Linked DNA regions of Homo sapiens: all the other regions are linked to region 1. Evidence: promoter capture Hi-C in 16 types of primary human blood cells and fetal thymus (Javierre and others, 2016). All regions are on one chromosome and are shown on one strand. Each heading gives the region's core, a stretch centred on a gene start or on the middle of the fragment in contact. The rest is flanking DNA. Distances are from core to core; before and after follow the strand shown. Region 1 holds the start of PLSCR5 (phospholipid scramblase family member 5). Region 2 overlaps PLOD2 (procollagen-lysine,2-oxoglutarate 5-dioxygenase 2). Region 3 has its middle 30 kb from the start of LNCSRLR.

Region 1 (4,458 bases), core at 1,660-4,159:
GGGAGTTTCCTGGGAAGAGGCAAAGCCCATTCACCCTATGGTTTCTGATATTCGTGTTCAAGTTTCCTGTTTCTTACAGCAATGCCCTCGATGTGATCTCAAGTCTTCAGTACTGTGTTAGACATGCCCACCTTGGGTTGGAATCAAGTGAGTGGGCCATAAAAACTGCAGGCTGGTGGCAAAGTCAAACTGATGCTTCTTGAAAAGGTCAAGGGCTTCATGGCACAGAGCCAAGAGGATGGTATGACCATCGTTCTTCTAGGAAGGCAGCAGGTGTTAGGAGAAGAGCACTGAGTACTATGAAGGTGAAGTTGAATGGCAGCAGCAATAGCAACAGGAGAGAGGCCAGCTTGTGGAGCAGCATCTCCTGGCTGCGTGAACACACAGTGTTAGGACACTTGAAACATGTGAGAGTCCTATTAAACAGAGTTTTGTGAGCCTCTCCTTGAGAAAAGCTGAGAAAAAGAAAGGAATGAACAAAAGGGAGATCTCAGGTTGGCAAACACTTAGCCTTTAAAAAGAAAAAAAACATTGGTATTGTCTTTGGCAAGACAGGGAGAGTGCATAAGGGAAGAAAAATGCATTGAGTATACCTCACCAGTAGCATTACCAGGTTCGATGATCTGAAAAGCCTCCACTGCAGATTAAATATTAAAAGATCCCATCAGTCAGTCATATGCCCATGTCATCATATGCCCAAGTCATATATGGTTGTCTTTGGAGAGTTCACAAATATGTTTAATTCACTAAGATTTTTATTTTTATTCCAAAATTTGTGCTGTGTAGGGCAGTCAAAATTAACTGGTGAATTCTGACCACATTTCAAAACATCTTGTTTGATAGCAGCATGATTTATATTCCTTTAGGTATATACCCAGTAATGGGATGGCTGGGTCAAATGGTATTTCTAGTTCTAGATCCCTGAGGAATTGCCACACTGTCTTCCACAATGGTTGAACTAGTTTACAGTCCCACCAACAGTGTAAAAGTGTTCTTATTTCTCCACATCCTCTCCAGCACCTGTTGTTTCCTGACTTTTTAATGATCACCATTCTAACTGGTGTGAGATGATATCTCATTGTGGTTTCAATTTGCATTTCTCTGATGACCAGTGATGATGAGCATTTTTTCATGTGTCTGTTGGCTGCGTAAATGTCTTCTTTTGAGAAGTGTCTGTTCATATCCTTCACCCACTTTTTGATGGGGTTGCTTGTTTTTTTCTTGTAAATTTGTTTGAGTTCTTTGTAGATTCTGGACATTAGCCCTTTGTCAGATGAGTAGATTGCAAAAATTTTCTCCCATCCTGTAGGTTGCCTGTTCACTCTGATGGTAGTTCCTTTTGCTGAGCAAAGACACATGCACACGTATGTTTATTGCGCACTACTCACAATACAAAGACTTGGAACCAACCCAAATGTCCAACAATGATAGACTGGATTAAGAAAATGTGGCACATATGCACCATGGAATACTATGCAGCCATAAAAAATGATGAGTACATGTCCTTTGTAGGGATATGGATGAAGCTGGAAACCATCATTCTCAGCAAACTATCGCAAGGACCGAAAACCAAACATCGCATGTTCTCACTCACAGGTGGGAATTGAACAGTGAGAACACATGGACACAGGAAGGGGAACATCACACACCGGGGCCTGTTGTGGGGTGGGGGGAGAGGGGAGGGATAGCATTAGGAGATGTACCTAATGTAAATGATGAGTTAATGGGTGCAGCACACCAACATGGCAGATGTATACATATGTAACAAACCTGCACGTTGTGCACATGTACCGTAGAACTTAGAGTATAATAAAAAAAATTTTTTTAATCTTCTTTGATAGTGTTAATAACTTAATTTTTTGTATTAAAGTTTTTCTAAATGCTCACGACAAACATTAGAAAAAACTTAGGAAACATACAGTTTAATTTAAAAATATTAATCATATTCACACATCTTTTCTGCAAAACGACAACTTAAATAATGGTAGCTTTTTTCAACTCCAAACACTAAGAAAACTACAACAACAAAACCACTCCTCTTTGTCAAATAAGGAAAACTCAAACTTTTGGCAGTCTGCAAACTGTGAGGTTGACTTTATAATTTTTCATCACAAGGTATACCTCCTGAAGCCTCTTAACTATTTTCAGAAAAAGACAGTGTTGCTGATAATGCAATATATCCTGCATGTTCAACCTTTGTGAATCATACCATGTAGGGCAATTGACTTGGTGAGCAAAATCTCCATGGTCACCTGGGTAGCTGCATTTAGAAATAGGAGCTGTCCAGTCAAGGTTACAGCACTTGTTTTCTTTCCTTAGAATTCAATGCAGTTAAATATCATCTGTAAATTTTGATTAGCTTTGCAAGGCTATTGAAGGTTTGTATATTCCAATGCCTCTGATTAATCAAATTCAATTAAAAATGAAAATAAAGATTTATTTATATAATAGTAGGGAATATATCCTCTTCTTATTTATTTTGAGTTGAAGAGATGGAGATAAATCCAATAGAAAAATAACAATAATAATGTTCAAACATTTTCAACATGTAAAGAATTGTATTTAGAACTATCAAAAATTTATACAATAGGATGTTTTATCACAGAATCTGGAAAGGAGACTTCTAGAAATTGAGAAATACAGGATATTTCTGATATAAGACTGAATGCAAATGTGTATATTCTAAGAAATACAAAAACAACTTGGTAAAAAAAAAAAAGACACTTAAAATGAGTGCTGTGTGCTTTCCTTTCTGGTTTTTATTATTTTTAAATTGTTCCTTCAGCCACCAAAGTTATATGATGGTTTCTGAACAGCGTTTACTTTTGTGACAGTTTCATCTCACTCTGTTGTCCAAACTGATAAAGTCCAGAAGTCTAGAAACAGCAAGGGACTCCCTTCCTCTGTTATATGTAAGCTGACAAGAGGCAGACAAACACGTTCTGAAGTTTTGTGCATGCTGCGTTTTCTCTCCTTGCTGCAACAAGAAAAGCCTTTGTTTTCCAACCTGGCAACCTTTGAAGAAGTGACTCAGACATCTTCATGGCCTCTAAAGGTAAGAGTAAATATAACCAACTAATAACTTTTTCTTATATTAAGACTAAAAATATACAATTGTGGATGTGTTACAACCAGTTAGATTGGTACTTTAAAAGCTGTCATTTGTCACTTTTGAACATTGTGATTTTAAAATCTTAACTCCCAGGAGCATGTTGAGTTACATGTAAAAACACTTTATCTGACAGACTGTAAAAGTTCAGATGTAAACGATGTTTTAGTTATCATGAATACAAACATAGTGAATTAATAAGAAAAGCTGCATAGCAAAGTTTAGAATGGGAATCTTCAATGTTAAACACAAGGACAGGGTGATATTTTAAGTTTAAAAGGATTTGAAGAAAACTTTTCACACATAAGTTAGAAAGTGTTAAAGTGCAATTTAATAATTTTTTTAATTAAAATATTAAAAATTTATGTGGGTACATAGTAGGTATATATACTTATGGGATACATGAGATGTCTTCATACAAGCAGGCAATGTGAATTAAGGACATAAAGGGGAATGGGATATCCATCCCATCAAGCATTCAGCCTTTGAGTTACAGACAATCCAGTTACACTCTCTAAGTTTTATTTTCCCATTTGTTATTCAAATTATGTGATATAGCCATTTATTATAAAGAATCTGACATGCGTTATTATTGATTCTTAAATGTGATGGGCTAGAAATAAGTATTTCTGAATTATAAAGCAAAAATATCTTGAAATTTCCTTATGGTAAATTAAAGATAGAAAACAAACAGAAAATATCTGCTTTAAGCGCACAGATCACTTAGCAGACTTTTGGGGAGTAGGACTGATGAGTTTTTTCTCAAATTCCTAAAACTGCAAAAATATCATTACGTTATCTTACTTTAAAGAAGGTCTAAAAAGACAAGAGATGTAGTTGTTTTTAAAGTAAGTTGCAATCTCACTAAAAACACTTGTGAAACTGTGTAAGAAATAAAATTATAATGTGCTTTCATTTCATTGTCAGAATGAACCACTAAAGCCTAGGCTATAATGAAAAGTTTTAGCATGAAGAATTATAATTAGTATAATTGGTGAAAACCTTTTAAATTAATTACAAATAGGATAATAGGGCTCATCAATTTGTAATATCCTAAATTAGTGATCCATTCAAACAAATGTGTATGCTTACTTGCTTCCTTTATCAAAACACACTTTTGGTCACTATTTAATATGAAACAAATGAGATAATCTTTCCATTTTTTATCAATCTTTAATGTAGACCAGTCCCTCAGTCCCTCAGAATCACTGAGAAAGCTCACACAAATTGTAAAACATAGATGTGAAATAGCAAAATCATGAATTTAACATATGTGTCATTTTTTTCTATCTGAAGACAAATAAACAAAAAACCTTGACAAATATTTCCTTTCATTTAAGACTGACACT
Region 2 (4,332 bases), core at 204-2,703, 520 kb after region 1:
TAACTAAAGTAGTTTCCCTCTGTTGGATGTAAGCAAGGCATTTTTAAAAGTCATTTTTATGTATTCATTAGCATTTTCAATTACTTTTTCCTTCTTTGTTACTCTTTTTAAGAAATATGATTGAAAATTAGCAATATACTTACTTAAGAAAAGATGTTGGGAAAGAAGATCCTTATTTTATTTTTATTAACTACAGGTTTGTTGAATGAGCTTTCTTGTGTTATATGTCATACTAAGCCCAAAATACATAATTCTGTGGTAATTTAAAAATAAATAATTATATAGGTTTCTCTCTCTCACACACACTCTCTCTGTCTTTAGAAAGATCATTGCTCCTCTTGTAACTCGTCATGGAAAGCTGTGGTCCAATTTCTGGGGAGCATTGAGTCCTGATGGATACTATGCACGATCTGAAGATTATGTGGATATTGTTCAAGGGAATAGAGTGTAAGTTACTTGGTTTAATATTTTAATGTGAAATACCATAATCTAAAGATGTAGTCTTGTTAGTATTACTTGAAATTTTTTTTGCATTCATCTCTTTTCTTTATAGTTAATGGGAATTTGAGAACCCAAGACCACTTGGAATCCTGAAATACTAGTATAAAACTAATATCTTAAAAAAATGTTTTTAAAGTCCCAAATCTTCAAAGGAACAAGCTCATTGCTGTGGGGAATACTAAGAGATAATATATGTTTACCATACTCACATTATGGTTGATAGAAGAGTAATACTCTTTATTTAAAAGCTTGGAAAGGGGATTTAGTTTACTAACTTTTTAATGGTTATAATTAAGGGTTGTTTTGATAGGTTTTAAAATTTATAATTAAGCCAACAGTAACACTAACAGCCAGAACATTCCAGTATTCCTGATTGCATGAGTTTTTTTGTGTGAAATAGCTATTATTCTGCTTTAAATACAAGTTTTTTTTACCAATATTAGATTTTCACTTCTAGAGATTGAAAAGAATATATTTGCTGAAAAGTGTGTGCATGATTTATATTTATTTCAGAGACAATGGTTGATTACTAAAAATAATCACAATTGAAATAGTTTTGCTAAGGTAATATTGGAGAAGAATGTCATTCTTTTTTTCATACATATGATGGACCAGAGTGACTAAGACATTACATGCTTTGCCTTAGTTCTCAAACATGTCAGCCTGATTAAAAAGGGGCAGTATACTCTCAGGACTAAAAGGATGTGCCCTTACATTTAGAAAAAAAAAGGCACACGTTTCTGTTCAAACAGTTGAGTGGTAAAAAGATGTGTTGCTTGTGGAAATAGTAATTGGTGTGGAAAGCTTCAATCTGAATGATGTAAATACAATAAAGGTTTTTGTTAGCTGCAATTAAAATGCACAGTGGAGGAGAAAAGACTATTAAGATCGTATTCTGTTGTTTCTGTGCAGTTGTATTGACTCTGGGTGAGTTGTATAGACAATATACCTGATTGTATCTTTGGGCACATCACAAATGAGGGTTTGTGAAAGTAGAATGGAAAATTTGTTTCAAGTTGCTTTAGGCATTGGTGATTTTCTGTCCAACCTCCTGTCATTCTTGTCTAAAGTATAAGGAAAAAAATATGGCAGAAGCTTTTGATCTGGAATACACTTCATGTCCAAAAGCTACACGAAGGAGCAACTGTGTGTGTGTGTGTATGTGTGTGTGTATAAGTTGAAACACTGAATAATTCCCCAGAGATTAATTTCTGAATTTAGCTGACACGTTGTATACAGTAATTCCCCTTTATCTATGGTTTTGCTTTCCATGGTTTCAAGTCTACTGTGGATTGAAAATACGAAGATATGTTGAGATAGAGAAAGTGTAAACATTCATGTAACTTTTATTACAGCATATTGTTATAGTTGTTCTATTATTGTTGTTAGTCTTACTGTACTTTATGTATAAATTAAACTTTATTATAAGTATATATGTGTAGGAAAAAACGTAGTGTATGTGTAGCGTTTGTTACTATCTGCTTTCAAGCATCCACTGGGGTCATGGAATGTATCACCCTCACATAAGGCGGGGACTGCTGTACTCCTTAAGGCATTTTTCTTTGAGGCTAGTCTAGTAAGACATAATATCATATTTCCGTTAATATCTAACTGCATTTCTTGGTCAAGATCTTGCCTTGATGTTCTCTAAAAGAAAGGCGCACAGTCTTAGGGGCAAAACTTGTTTTGCAGTTTTTATGAAATCAGTCATGTTCAGAGTGAGAATATAGATGTGGGAAAGGATGCAACGTTCATGTGCTCCCAGCTGTATTTCTTCATGTTTTCCTTTTTCTATAAAATATTTAAGATGGCTTAATGAATGGTAAGAGAATATAATTTTGGAGAATTTTAGGCTATATTCAGTGGTATTTTGGTAAATGTGTAACAACTGGCTTTTGGAGGTGGAGGATTCCCTGATTTAAAGTGCTTGCCCATTTGTTTGGTGTAAATACTTCTACCATGGCTGATTTCAAGTTTCCAATGTGAAATTACTGAACATGGACTTGGCAGAAAAAGTTAACTTTGGGGAGCCAGTATGAGCTGGGTCTAGTGCACCACTGGTTGTATGTTATGATTCATGCTATCAAATTCTTTAATTTTAAATAGAAACACCGTCTATACAATAGATTATAATAGTCTAATTGTAACAACTGATTGAGATATGATAGCTATAATACAAATGCCAAACAGATACCAACCCAAAATTGAAATGTATCCAAAGGGGCAGTGGTTTATCTCCTAAATCTCATTAAATATAGTGTATACAATGTAATCTTATATATATATCATTGAATATATTTGTATGTTGATTCAATAATTTATGTATACAAAATCTAAACACAAAGCATTTATTTTAAAAAGGTAAAAATGAAACTTAAAATTGTTTGTATTTGTGGTATATAAGAATGTCTTCTCTTTACTTTCAGAGGAGTATGGAATGTCCCATATATGGCTAATGTGTACTTAATTAAAGGAAAGACACTCCGATCAGAGATGAATGAAAGGAACTATTTTGTTCGTGATAAACTGGATCCTGATATGGCTCTTTGCCGAAATGCTAGAGAAATGGTAAGATATGCAGTGATGGCTTGCTTGAATGTTCTTATAAGATGGCTTGCTTTACCAGTTGGTGTGTCACTGTGTTTTGATGCCCTTTGTCTTGCTAATTTGTAAGTACTAGCCAATTTTTTTGGTTCTGTGTTAAAAAATTTGGGAGTAATTTTGGAGATAATTTAACATTTACTTATAGAAATGGTATGAAAAATGTTAGTTTTTGTGCTCGGGCTAATTCATAGGCAACCGAGTTGGATTTCAGTAATAAAGATGTATTTGTTACAAATCAGCTTTGCTCTTTTAAGAATACATCTTTAATTTGAAATTCTATAGTGAAAACTTGACCTAATTAAAATTAATTAGATAAGCTTCGATGAAACAATATTTCCAGATTTAAGAATATTTTTGTTCTAAAATTAATGTCCACATTTTCTCTAACTAGGTAAAATTTTAAAATTATTATTAACTTCACATTCTTAGAAAGCAGGATTATTACCACCAAACTAGTAGAAGTGTTGAGATACATAGTGTATTTACTCTAAATAAAATACTAATGATACCTTGCTGCACTACAAATGTACTTTTATTATAAAACTTAAAATGACTAGAAAATAATTTTTCAAAATGCATAAACATGGCTTAGAATATATTGATATGATTTTTGGTTTTAGAAATGATGGGGCTATTTTATTTCCGATTTCCAAATTTATATAAGCAATTGTGATTTGATGAAAAGTCAGAAAAGTTGGCAAGTATTTTTTTCTTAGTTTAACAAAGCATGTATTGTTTGAATATGTTTGTTTTCTCTACAAACCTGTGTGCATTATTATTGAATATCCTCAGTACTTGTGATAGTATTTTGTGCTCATGTTTGGCTAATTTGACTCAACAGCGCATCATGGAATGGCCTCTCTTACTCATTTTTTCCGTTGTCTTATGTGTCTAATGAAAGTTCTGCTAAGGAATGAGCTTAGACTTATGTTTGACCCCACCACACCTCCCAAAAAGAAAAGAAAAGAAGGGCTGAAAGAGCTGGAGATGTTTCTTTGTGTGTGCTATAAGCTTTGCTTGTTCTGCATGTTGTCTATGAAGGACATTTCAGAATGTTAGCTTTTGATCAACAGCTGCTATTATTTTTATTTACCAAAGAATACCTGAGAGAGCGGGTGTACAGGTCAACTTACCCAATGCTTCTCTTCATTTTAGACTTTACAAAGGGAAAAAGACTCCCCTACTCCGGAAACATTCCAAATGCTCAGCCCCCCAAAGGTGTTATTT
Region 3 (4,637 bases), core at 1,915-4,414, 570 kb after region 1:
ATGAAATCGTGAAATAGAAAAAAGAAAATTGTGCTAGTTTTGCTCTTGCTACTCAAACTGAAAAATTTATGGGCACAGTGCATGATAAGTGCTTAGTTATGATGGAAAAGGCCTTAAATTGTGGGTGGAAGTCATGAGCAAAAAATAAAACATATACTGATTGAAGGCAACCTGTTGTACTTGGGCCCATTCAGCCTATATAAAGACTTCAGCAAGGGATTCTTTGAAATGAGTGACACCAAGCCATTTACTACAAGTAAGAGATAATTATACAGATTCAGGAATAGGTTTGAACCTGAAAATATAAAAATTACTGAAGAGGCTGTATCTGCAGATGAAGAAGCTGCACATTTCCAGCAGATTTAAAGGAATTGATTAAGGAGAAAGGATACCATCCAAAGCAAATCTTCAATTGTGATGAAACCTGGCTCTGCTGGAAGAAGATGACCAATAGCACCTACATTCATAAAAGTCCAAAAAAGGCATCAGGTGATAAAACATGGAAGGACAGATTAACTCTGGTACTGTGTGGCAATACTGCAAGGCATGTGATAAAGCCGGGCATAGTGTACAAAGCAAAGATCCAAAACCAATGCCAAAACCAAAAATTATTTGCCCATGTTATGGTAACATAATCAGAATGCATGAATGATAGCCATATTGTTTATGGAATGGTTCCACCAATGCTTCATCCTGGAAGTGAAAAATACTTGGAAGATAAAGGATTGGAATTTAAAGTCTTTTTAATAATAGGGAATGCACTGAACCATCCTGAATATTTGCTACAAAAATGAAAATGTTGATGTTGCATTTTTACCTCCAAATACAACCTAATTGCTTCAGCCCCTTGACCAGGTTATCATCTAGTCTGTCAAGGCCACATAAACCTGCTCAGTATTTGATTGAATTCAATTAGCAATTGATGCAGACTCTAATCTGGACATTATGGAGTGCTGGAAATCACTCACTATTGCTGTCACAATAATATTAATCAAGTTGTAATTGGTGAATTAAAACCAAAACTGCAAATGTCTGCTGAAAGAACATATGGAGTGAAATTGTGAAAGCTTCCTGAAGGTTGATGGCAAAGTTAGGAAAATAATTCCTGCAGCAAAGGAGAAGGATTTGCCAACATACTTGCTCAGGTGGAAGAACATTTTGAAGGCCATCAAGAAGTATTAACAAATAAGAAATTGGAAGAACTTGTTGAATCATCTACAGAGGAATAGGGATACGAAGAAGAATAAAAAACAGAAGCAGAATCAGCAATGTGGACATTACGAAAATTTGCTGACATGTTTTCAGCTGCAAAGACATTAAAGGACAAAATTATGGAATATAATCCTTGGATCAAATGCAGCATTAAAGTCACTCATATGATTATGATTACCAAAGGATTACAACCTCGGCAGCAACACTTTGATGAGTTAAAAAGAAAGAGACAACAAATTTTTATTATGGTTATAATGTTATTCCAAAACATTTTGGCAAAAAACTTCAATTATGGAATCCTCTACCATCACATTGTCTGCTCCAGGCATCCAATCATGGCTGAATGATCCAAGATCACCAGAAGCAGATGATCTTCTTTCTGACTTATTAGAAGCTCAATAGCAGCCTAATGCTCCATCAAAATGCCTGCCATTCACCTCACTTCAGCTCATCACATACATAGGCATTGTATCATTTCACATCATCATCATAAGGGTTAGTACAGCAAAATAAGATATGTTGAGAGACAGGGAGATAGCACATTAATATAACTTTCATTACACTATATTATTATACTTGTTCTCTTATTATTATTGTTATTAATATCTTACTTTACCTAATTTATAAATTAAACTTTATCATACGTATATATGTACAGGAGAAAACATAGTATAGATTCTGGTAGTATTCATTTTCAGATATTCACTGGGGGGTCTTGGAACATATCACCTGTGGATAAAGGAGGATACTATAATGATCACTGTAGTTTACTACTTGCTCAGACAAAAATATATGGTATGATCCTTGACTACTTTCTTTCTCTCATATCCTATATTCAATTCATCTGCACTTTACTTTTAAAGTATGTTCCAAAAACATCTAGTTCCTACAGTATCTAATATGCACAGTAGTCCCAGGCACTATCATCTCTTGCCAGAACTATTGACTGCTACAGTCTTCTAAATGGTCTCTTTCTCCACCTTATTTCTTATAGTCTTTTATCCACACAGCAGACAGAGTGATCCTTCTAAGTTGGTTCATATCACAGCTCTATTCACATCTCTCCATGGCTTCTATTCCAGGCAGAATTAAACCCCAAGTCTACATCAGAGCGTCCATGTCCCCCATGATTGTGCCACTGTGCCACTCACTTCACCACTTTGCCCTCATTCTATCAGTCTTTCTCTTGCTTGTCTTTTCCATGTCCGGGATTATGCCAAGATCATTTCCATCTTAGTGTGTTTGTGTGTATTCTACTGCTTGGAATCCTCTTCCTCAGAAACTCACAGGACTTGTTTTCTCACTTTCGTGTCTCAGCTCCCCTGTTGGCTTATCAGAGAAGCCTTCCCTCATCACTTTGAACTAAAGATTTCTTCTTGCCCCAGTCACACTCTATCACATTATCCTCTCCATACTTCATGACACTTACTCTCCAACATGTATTTCTTTCTTAATTCAATAGTGTTTGTTGAAATATAAACCCATGAGAGTGACAACTTGTCTGTTTTGTTCGCTACCATACTTCCAGCATCTAAAACAACACTTGGCATATATAATAGACACTCAATAAATCTTTGTTGAATAAAGAAACATGTAATTGCATTATAGTGCTATAAGTGCCAAGATAGGGAAAATACTTTATGCCAGTGAAGCACTTAGGAAATGTCGAAGAAAGCTTTCAAGGGAAGTGATATCTAAGCTGAGTTCTGATGAATAAATTAGACAATTAAGGTTGGGAGAAGGGAACAAATGGAGTGAAATGAGGAAGTAGTCCATGGGAAGCCGAAGCTGAAGGCTCAGTAGAAACACTTAAACTGGGAAAACCATGTAGGGCTTAGACTTCACCTTAAGAGCAATGGGGAGTTATTGAAGTGCTTTACCAGATGAGTGCGGTCAGCATTACATTTTCTAAGGATCAGTCTCCCTAAGAAACAAATTCATTGTGTAGGGTTGAAAATGGCGAAGCTATCTCAGTTAAGAAGATATGACAATAATCCAGGAAACGTATGGTGTCCTCCAATTTGAGTATGAAGAAAATCTGGTAAATTTTAGGCAAATGAGATTGCTGAATAAAACTGAAATGCATGATTGATTGAATATAGAGAGAAGATGGAGAGGGAGAGAGATGAGCCAACACTTACTAGGTTTCTGTCTTGGGAAACTGGGTGCATAGTAGTTCTACTACTGTGATAAAAGCATGTTTGTGTTCAGGGGAAGATGATAAGCTTATCTGGGTATGGTGAATTTGAGGTGCCTTAGAGGCAGTTAGATGTGTGAGGCTTAAGGTCAGCAGAGAGGTTATACCTAAAAAGAGATAGATGTAGGAATTGTTAGTGTAAATGTGGTATTTACTGCCACGGGCTTAGATGAGACCCCCTAGCTCAGGAAGACTTTTAGAGCCTGAAATGAAATGAAGCTGTCTCCATCTCCATGGGATCAGGGTTAATAACAGAAGCTGAGAAAATGTAGGATGGAGAAACAAGTTTCTCAATGATGGAACAGCTGAGGGGAGGGCCTCATGTATATGAGTCATCTTAAAAAGTTCTGTGCTCCTACACAGGCTGAGGCTTAGGCTCTCTTACAGGAATGCAAGCAAAAGGAAAGGACTAGCCGGGCACGATGGCTCACACCTGTAATCCCAACAATTTGGGAGGCCGAGGCAGGCAGATCACTTGAGGTCAGGAGTTCGACACCAGCCTAACCAACATGGTGAAACCCCATCTCTACTAAAAATACAAAAATTAGCCAGGCATGGTGGTGCGAACCTGTAATCCCAGCTACTTGGGAGGCTGAGGCAGAAGAATGGCTTGAACCTGGAAGGCAGAAGTTGTGGTGAGCTGAGATTGTGCCACTGCACTACAGCCTGGGCAACAGAGCAGGACTGTTGTCTCAAAAAAAAAAAAAAAAAAAAGAAAAAAAAAGGACTTCTCTAGAGAGGTATAAGATATTCTGCATTTTGAAATACAGTAATGTATTATTTCTTCTATGGTAATAATACTTCTAGAAGTGAATTTGATTATTGAAAAGCAGAATCTTCAAGAAATAACACTAGTAGAGAAAAATAATTCAACCCCATTTTCTTGTTACTTTGACCTTTCTTTTTATTTCTCAATTTCAATTATAATTACTACACTTCCTGTTCCCAAAACTTTTGTGTCTTGTCTGCTGATGCTGTCAGTAACATTATACAACTATGAAGATTTGGCTTAAAAATACAAAACATATGAACCATATTTAATTAAATTCTGTTGGTTGAAAGCACATGAAAGAATTTTCCATGTATGCATAGCTCATTATTGCCTTTACCAAAACCTCTTAGCCTTTGGAGGAGACTGCTGATGACAATAATCACATCAGCCCCCGAGAGGAAACTAGGCCTCTGGGCTTCCAGGGATCACCAATTCTTTTCCAGTATTAACAAATAT

What was found. Contacts are between HindIII fragments. The CHiCAGO score rates a contact against its expected background, and 5 or more counts as called.
Region 2: a contact is called between a fragment that was not itself captured here and the fragment with the promoter of PLSCR5 in region 1, in 3 of 17 cell types (monocytes, total B cells and M2 macrophages). The highest score is 6.1, in monocytes.
Region 3: a fragment that was not itself captured here is called in contact with the fragment with the promoter of PLSCR5 in region 1 in 1 of 17 cell types (monocytes); the score reaches 6.2 in monocytes.

Annotation. Positions count from the first base shown.
Region 1 is chr3:146,603,797-146,608,254 of GRCh38, reverse strand. PLSCR5 (phospholipid scramblase family member 5) reads left to right here and starts at 2,909. Exons shown (of 8, transcript NM_001085420.2): 1 at 2,909-3,055. The coding sequence starts at 3,043. The HindIII fragment of the contact is 8,012 bases long and covers 1-4,458 here.
Region 2 is chr3:146,077,853-146,082,184 of GRCh38, reverse strand. It overlaps PLOD2 (procollagen-lysine,2-oxoglutarate 5-dioxygenase 2), which reads left to right. Exons shown (of 20, transcript NM_182943.3): 12 at 322-447; 13 at 2,928-3,069; 14 at 4,261-4,323. Among named protein-coding and RNA genes, the nearest start is that of LNCSRLR, 11 kb to the right of the region's middle. The HindIII fragment of the contact is 291 bases long and covers 1,308-1,598 here.
Region 3 is chr3:146,036,997-146,041,633 of GRCh38, reverse strand. No RefSeq gene overlaps it. Among named protein-coding and RNA genes, the nearest start is that of LNCSRLR, 30 kb to the left of the region's middle. The HindIII fragment of the contact is 550 bases long and covers 2,890-3,439 here.